Regions from separate parts of the Homo sapiens genome. Here region 2 is linked to region 1. Evidence: promoter capture Hi-C in human tissues and cell types (Jung and others, 2019). All regions are on one chromosome and are shown on one strand. Each heading gives the region's core, a stretch centred on a gene start or on the middle of the fragment in contact. The rest is flanking DNA. Distances are from core to core; before and after follow the strand shown. Region 1 holds the start of STRAP (serine/threonine kinase receptor associated protein). Region 2 has its middle 97 kb from the start of ATF7IP.

Region 1 (3,400 bases), core at 645-3,144:
TTTCAGATATTCTATGAGGTTAAAAAAGTCCCTTCTATTTCTAGTGTCTCAGAATTCTTATAAGTGAAAGAATGCTGAATTCTATCAAAAACTTCTTACACATCTTTTGATATGATTTTCTTTAATCTTTTAATATTGTTAATTATATCAATTACATTAACCTGTCTTCTAATATTAAATTGACCTTGAAGCCTACCCAATTGGTCATAATACACAATACTCTTAGAACTCAGAATCCAAATGAGCAGGAAATAATACATTCTTTAGAGCCAAGTATGTACCATAACTTACCAATTATATTCTTATCTACACACAATGAGCAATAAATGAACATGTATCAGTATCTGACCAGTTGTGTCATTTTGAGTGGGTCTTTTATTTACCTCCATCAGTAATGCAACAATCTATTTAATCAGTAAACAGTCATGCTGAGTATTCACTAAATGCCATTCACTTTTCTGGCACTAGAGTACAAATGACAAAGCCATAACCATTGCCATTAAGGAGTTCATAAATGTGTGAGTGGTGCGTATGTGTGAGACAAAAGGGAGAGGATGGCACAAAGGAGGAGTCGAACAAGATAAAATGAAAAACATATATAGTAAGTGCTTTACCGTAAGTGAATGAACGAGAGTACTAAGGAAAAAGAATGGAGACGTATTTCAAGTTCTCACGTTGTTTGACTCGAATCTTGTAGACGGTGTTTGCTGCAAAAAGATGAAGAAAACATTCACAGACATTTATGTTGATTACATATTTATTGCTATGTGCCCAGACGTTTTGACCTTGGGGATAAAGTAGCAAAGAAAACACAAAAATCTCTGTTGTATTGGGTTTACATTCTATCAATAAAGATACAACTTGCCCAGAGAAAAGCCCTCTCCTGGTTAGGAAACAGTATCAACAATTAACAGCTCTGGTGGTTTCACAGAGCCACAGTGGGCTGCCTGCTGCAGACAATATCAGAGTTTGTTTATATTTAAATATTATTTTAATATTTCTATTTTTGTCCATGTATTATAATGCACATCTATGTAATTTGCAAATCATCACTCATATATACATCATATCAAAAGGTGTAAAAGTTTTTGATAGAATTCAGCATTCATTCGCTTATAAAATGAGTGAAGGCTCACTTTACGGATGAGAGTATTTCATCAAAAAAATTGGGGATCTACGACTCTAGAGTTCTCCGAAGTCCACCAAGGAAAAAGTAACTTGAATTTAATCGCATTTAAAACTATATAGTATCCACTCCTAAAACATTAGCAACATAGGAAAACTTACACAGCGGAAGAAATGACTGGGGATTTTTTTTTTTTTTTTAATACATGGTCTCGCTCTGTTGCCCAGGCTGGAGTGCGGTGGCGCGAGCACCGCTTACTGCGGTGTCGACCTCTCGGGCTCGAGTTATCCTCCCACCTCAGCCTTCCAAGTAGGTGGGACCACAGGCACCACCACTCCAAGCCCGTATATGGTTTTTAAATAAGACAAATTGCAAAAAACGTTGCCAGACAGCGTTCGCTGGTTTGGGCCGTCACTGGGTATGGCTCGTGTCCGTCTAGATATTCAGAGGCCGAGCACAGTCCTCAGTAGGGCTGCTCGGCAGGTACACAGCTGACGCTGGTCCTTGGACTTATGGGAGTGGGAACAACTTTCAACTCGGCCGCGGACCAGGAAGGCGTTCTGACCCGCTAGAGCTCGGGGACAGGGACCCCATCCCGGTGCCTAGAGCGTCTCCCTTAGTCGGCGTGGGCCAGCGCCAGTTACCTCACGAGCACTGAACTAGCGCCTGCGCCCTTCTATACTTCTCGCTCTTTCTTCAAGTCACTTCTACCCGGCGAGCCCGCCCTCCCGCCAATCGTCATTTCCGGCGGGTGCTCTGCGTCATTTACGTCGTCACTTCCTGCCGATGCCGGTGTGGACGCTGTGAATCGTGGCTGGCCCGGTTCTCCGCTTCTCCCCATCCCCTACTTTCCTCCCTCCCTCCCTTTCCCTCCCTCGTCGACTGTTGCTTGCTGGTCGCAGACTCCCTGACCCCTCCCTCACCCCTCCCTAACCTCGGTGCCACCGGATTGCCCTTCTTTTCCTGTTGCCCAGCCCAGCCCTAGTGTCAGGGCGGGGGCCTGGAGCAGCCCGAGGCACTGCAGCAGAAGAGAGAAAAGACAACGACGACCCTCAGCTCGCCAGTCCGGTCGCTGGCTTCGCCGCCGCCATGGCAATGAGACAGACGCCGCTCACCTGCTCTGGCCACACGCGACCCGTGGTTGATTTGGCCTTCAGTGGCATCACGCCTTATGGGTATTTCTTAATCAGCGCTTGCAAAGGTGAGCAAGGCCGCAATCCTGGTCCTCGACGGCTGGGACTGGGCTGAAAGGGATCGGGACCCGCACGCTCCAGTGCCGAAGCGGTGGTGTGGTGAGGGGGGAGGGGGCGATATTAACATCTGAGATGAGAGCCAACACTGGTCCGGTGGAGAAAGGAGTGTGTTAGGGAATCCGCAGCTGGAGCCGAGAGGACGCTTTTGTAGAAACTATTACCTCCAACTAAGACCTCTCTCCTTATTTTATTTTTATTGCTATTTTTGAAGGAGCTGGTCAGCATTTGCCTAGACTCTCGGGACAACACGGTAAATAGCTTTCAAGGATTTGGGGAAAGGAGAAATTAGGCCAGGCCGTGCAATACCTTACAAAGACGTTCGCTCTTGTCTCACTGGATATTCCTTTGTGGTATTAGCCTCATTTTTCAAATGGGAAACTGAGATTCAGGCTAAGATGTCTGTCCAAAATAAGACTAAAATCTAGATTGTTTTGACGCAGATCAGTATTCCCAGCCAATTACAGATGCTTTTCAGAGAGAATGATCTGTTCAGCTCTTCAGTTAATTTATTACTGCACATTCCTTAGTGCCTTCAGTGGGTGGTGGTAGTTAAATAGCTGAAACAATTTTTCCACTTTGTCATTGAACATCATTGTATATTTACATTTGAATCTTAGACTTTAAGTAATCTGAACTTATAAATTACATGTTTTAAAAAATATTTTCTAGATGGTAAACCTATGCTACGCCAGGGAGATACAGGAGACTGGATTGGAACATTTTTGGGTCATAAAGGTGCTGTTTGGGGTGCAACACTGAATAAGGATGCCACCAAAGCAGCTACAGCAGCTGCAGATTTCACAGCGTAAGTGTAGCCAAGATGGCTAACTTTGGTGTTCTCTGTAGCTTGTGTCCTGAAATAATCAAAAACTTCAGTGTCAGATATTCATAAAATTCTGACTCACTGGCTGCCATACAGAACGCATGTTTGATCCCACCAAAATTCCATCGTGGTCCATCGTGGTCCTGTGTGCTTCTTTGTCTTCAGTGGTTCTCAAAATTTTCAGAGGCCTAAATGACT
Region 2 (3,400 bases), core at 241-2,740, 1.6 Mb before region 1:
TTTTTTTTTTTTTTTGAGACGGGTCTAGCTCTGTTGTCCAGGCTGGAGTGCAGTGGTGCGATCTCAGCTTACTGCAACCTCCACCTCTCAAGTAGCTGGCACTACAGGTGCCCGCCACCACGCCTGGCTAATTTTTTTGTATTTTTAATAGAGACAGGGTTTCACCAAATGGCCAGGCTGGTCTCGAACTCCTGAGCTTGTGATCCGCCTGCCTCGGCCTCCCAAAGTGCTGGGATTACAGGCGTGAGCCATGCGCCCGGCCAGGGCTTTTTTTTTTTTTTTTTTTTTTTGAGACAGAATCTCACTCTGTCACCCAGGCTGGAGTGCAGTGGCATGACAGGATCTTGGCTCACTGCAACCTCCGCCTCCCTGGTTCAAGGGATTGTCCTGTCTCAGGCTCCTGAATAGCTGCGACTTCAGGCGCATGCCACCATGCCTGGTTAAATTTTTGTATTTTTAGTAGAGACGGTGTTTCACCGTGTTAGGAAGGATGGTCTCAATCTCCTGACCTCGTGATCCGCCCGCCTCGGCCTCCCAAAGTGCTGGGATTACAGGCGTGAGTCACCGTGCCCCGGCTGCTATTAATCTTAAATAGAGTAGATCAAAGTCACCAAGCCCCTTCTTGGAATATATTTACATATCTGTGCTCAGGGAGAAGGAATAATCTATGCAAATCCACTGCCAGTGGCTTTATTTCTCTAAGGCAGATATCTTCCCAAAGAAATAAGAGGGAAACTTGTTCCTTTATATTTCAAATAAAACAAAACAAAGAAAGATGCCCTGAGATTCTACTATGGTGGAATTTTAACTGGATTTCACCAAGAGAGGAGCCTATCATTCATTATGCAAATTAAGGAGGAAAAAAACCCCACTCTAGTCATTTCAACCAGTAGAGATTTAAATGAAGGAATTAGTTAATGTTGGGAAGTCCAGAGGACGAGAAGCTTACTCAATGAGTAGTAACTACTAACCATTTCTAGACTGGGGAAGCAAAATCACTGAGCAGAGGCCAAGGGTGCATGCAGCTAAGGCTTCTGTTATTGAAGCCCAGCTACCTGAACTGGAGCCCAGGAGCCTGCAAGCGCAGGCTGCTGTCGGAGTCCCCGTGGCTTCGTCTGCCCCAGACTTCACTACTAATGTTGCCCCTGCCATCAACGCTATTGCCGCCTCCATTCTTTTATCACTGGTGTGTAGTGCTGGAACTGCTGGAAACAGCTGCTTTTTCAACTGCTCAAAACTAGAAAAAGAGAGTCACAATTCCCTCCCTCTTGCCTTTTAATCTCTTTCCATTGGCAGAATCTGACCAAAAGTTTGTAAATGTAGATTACAGAATCTAACACACAGCAGAGCACAGAAGTGTGAGAATGAAGGTTGAAAATGTGAAAGGAAAATAAATCTTGGGGCCTCAAAAATCATTAAGCTAAGGGGAAAAGTCAAGCTGGGAACTGTTGAGGGCAAAGTTGCCTCCCATTGTATTCAAAGTCATCCCTCTGCTCACTGAGATAAATGCATATCTCATTGACTACTTTGGAAAGGCTAATTAGAAACTCAAAAGAATGCAACCATTTGTCTCTTCTCTACCTATGACCTGAAAGCCTCCTCTCTGCTTTTGCTTTTTTTGAGTGGTCCCACCTTTTTTTTTTTTTTGAGTTGTCCTGCCTTTGCTTCAAGTCATCCCACCTTTCCAGACTGAACCAATGTTCATCCTACATATGTTGATTGATGTTTCATGTCTCCCCAAAATGTATAAACCAAGCTGTGGGCTGGGAGCGGTGGCTCACGCCTGTATCCCAGCACTTTGGGAGGCCTAGGCGGACGGATCACAAGGTCAGGGGTTCGAGACCAGTCTGGCCATCATGGTGAAACCCCATCTCTGCTAAAAATACAAAATTAGCCAGGTGTGGTGGCAGGCGTCTGCAATCCCAGTTACTTGGGAGGCTGAGGCAGGAGAATCGCTTGAAACCAGAAGGTGGAGATTGCAGTGAGCCTAGATCAGCCACTGCACTCCAGCCTGGGCGAAAGAGTGAAACTCTGTCTCAAAAAAGAAAAAAAGAAAAAGAAAAACAAGCTGTATTCTTCCCACCTTGGGCACATGTCATCAGGACTTCCTGAGGCTGTGTCACAGGTGCACATCCTTAACTTTGGCAAAATAAACTTGCTAAATTGACTGAGACCTATCTCAGATATTCAAGGTCCGCAAGAACAAACAAATAACCAGTCTGATAAGTCGTAAGAAAGTTACACTCTGTCACATGGACCCTAAAAAGGCCAAGACACTCACTCGCCTTCCCAAGAAGAGTCTCTGTAGAGACTCAATGGTAAACCTGTAGGCAGTCAAGAGTCTCCTGTCCTCAAACACCTAGCAAGCAGTGCTATATGAAGGTACTAGGAAACTTTAACTAGGAAACTTTAAACAATTGAAGATTCTCGACTTCAGATAAGGGATAGGAACAAAAGCAGTACTGATAATATTGAAATACTGTTTTGTGATTGCATTTGATAGTGGGGAAAAGGACATATGAAACCCTCCAGACTTTTTCTCTTGGTGCCCTAAAACTTCTGGCTCATTGAGATTAAAAGGATCAAAATGCAATCTTATCCAGGGATAAAAGGCATTTTTACAATTGGAACTCTAAAATAGTATGTCATCCACTTTAGGACAAAGTGGATGGAGAGAATAAGGCATAATATCAAATACAAGTCCCCCAAATAGAAAGTTACAAGGGTGGACAGAATGTGGAAAAAAACTAAGACAAACCAAATGAGAACAAGCAAATTCTATTTATTCAGAGATTGCTATAGCTAGGGAGTCAACCACTGTCACTTGTATTTTGGCAGACACTCCAAGGCAGGCAGAGGAGTAGGAAAGTTTTATTGTAGGAAAAAGGAAAGGCTTCAACTATGCCCCAGTTAGAGGCTGTTGGCATGAGGAAGCTGTAAGCAGGCAAACTAGAAACAGGAATTCCTATGTGATTGGTTAGGGGTACACATTTGGCTTTCTCTGATTTTTTTTTTTTTTTTTTTTTTTTTGAGACAGAGTCTCACTCTGTCCTCAGGCTGGAGTACAGTGGCGCAATCTTGGCTCACTGCAACCTCTGCTTCCTGGGTTCAGGCGATTCTCCTGCTTCAGCCTCCTGAGTAGCTGGGACTACAGGCGTGCGCCACCATGCCCAGCTAATTTTTGTATTTTTTTTTAGTAGAGACTGGGTTTCACCATATTGGCCAGGCTGGTCTCAAACTCCTGACCTCAGGTGATCCACCTGCCTCAGCCTCCCAAAGTGCTGGGATTACAGGCATGAGCCACTGCACCCATCCGGTTTCCTCTGATTGGTCCTAATTTGGAAGCAGGGACAAAAATTAGAAAAGCGGTCAGTTATTAATCAAGTCCTGGCCATATTGG

What was found. Contacts are between HindIII fragments. The study calls those that stand out against the background at their distance.
Region 2: a fragment that was not itself captured here is called in contact with the fragment with the promoter of STRAP in region 1 in 1 of the 25 tissues and cell types used here (lymphoblastoid cells).

Annotation. Positions count from the first base shown.
Region 1 is chr12:15,880,493-15,883,892 of GRCh38, forward strand. It overlaps STRAP (serine/threonine kinase receptor associated protein), which reads left to right and starts at 1,895. Exons shown (of 10, transcript NM_007178.4): 1 at 1,895-2,327; 2 at 3,049-3,184. The coding sequence starts at 2,216. It overlaps LOC102724146 (a long non-coding RNA gene), which reads right to left and starts at 1,806. Exons shown (of 6, transcript XR_007063230.1): 1 at 1,288-1,806; 2 at 615-707. RefSeq lists enhancers at 1,313-1,542, 1,853-1,972. The HindIII fragment of the contact is 37,030 bases long and covers 1-3,400 here.
Region 2 is chr12:14,266,835-14,270,234 of GRCh38, forward strand. No RefSeq gene overlaps it. Among named protein-coding and RNA genes, the nearest start is that of ATF7IP, 97 kb to the right of the region's middle. The HindIII fragment of the contact is 4,901 bases long and covers 1-3,400 here.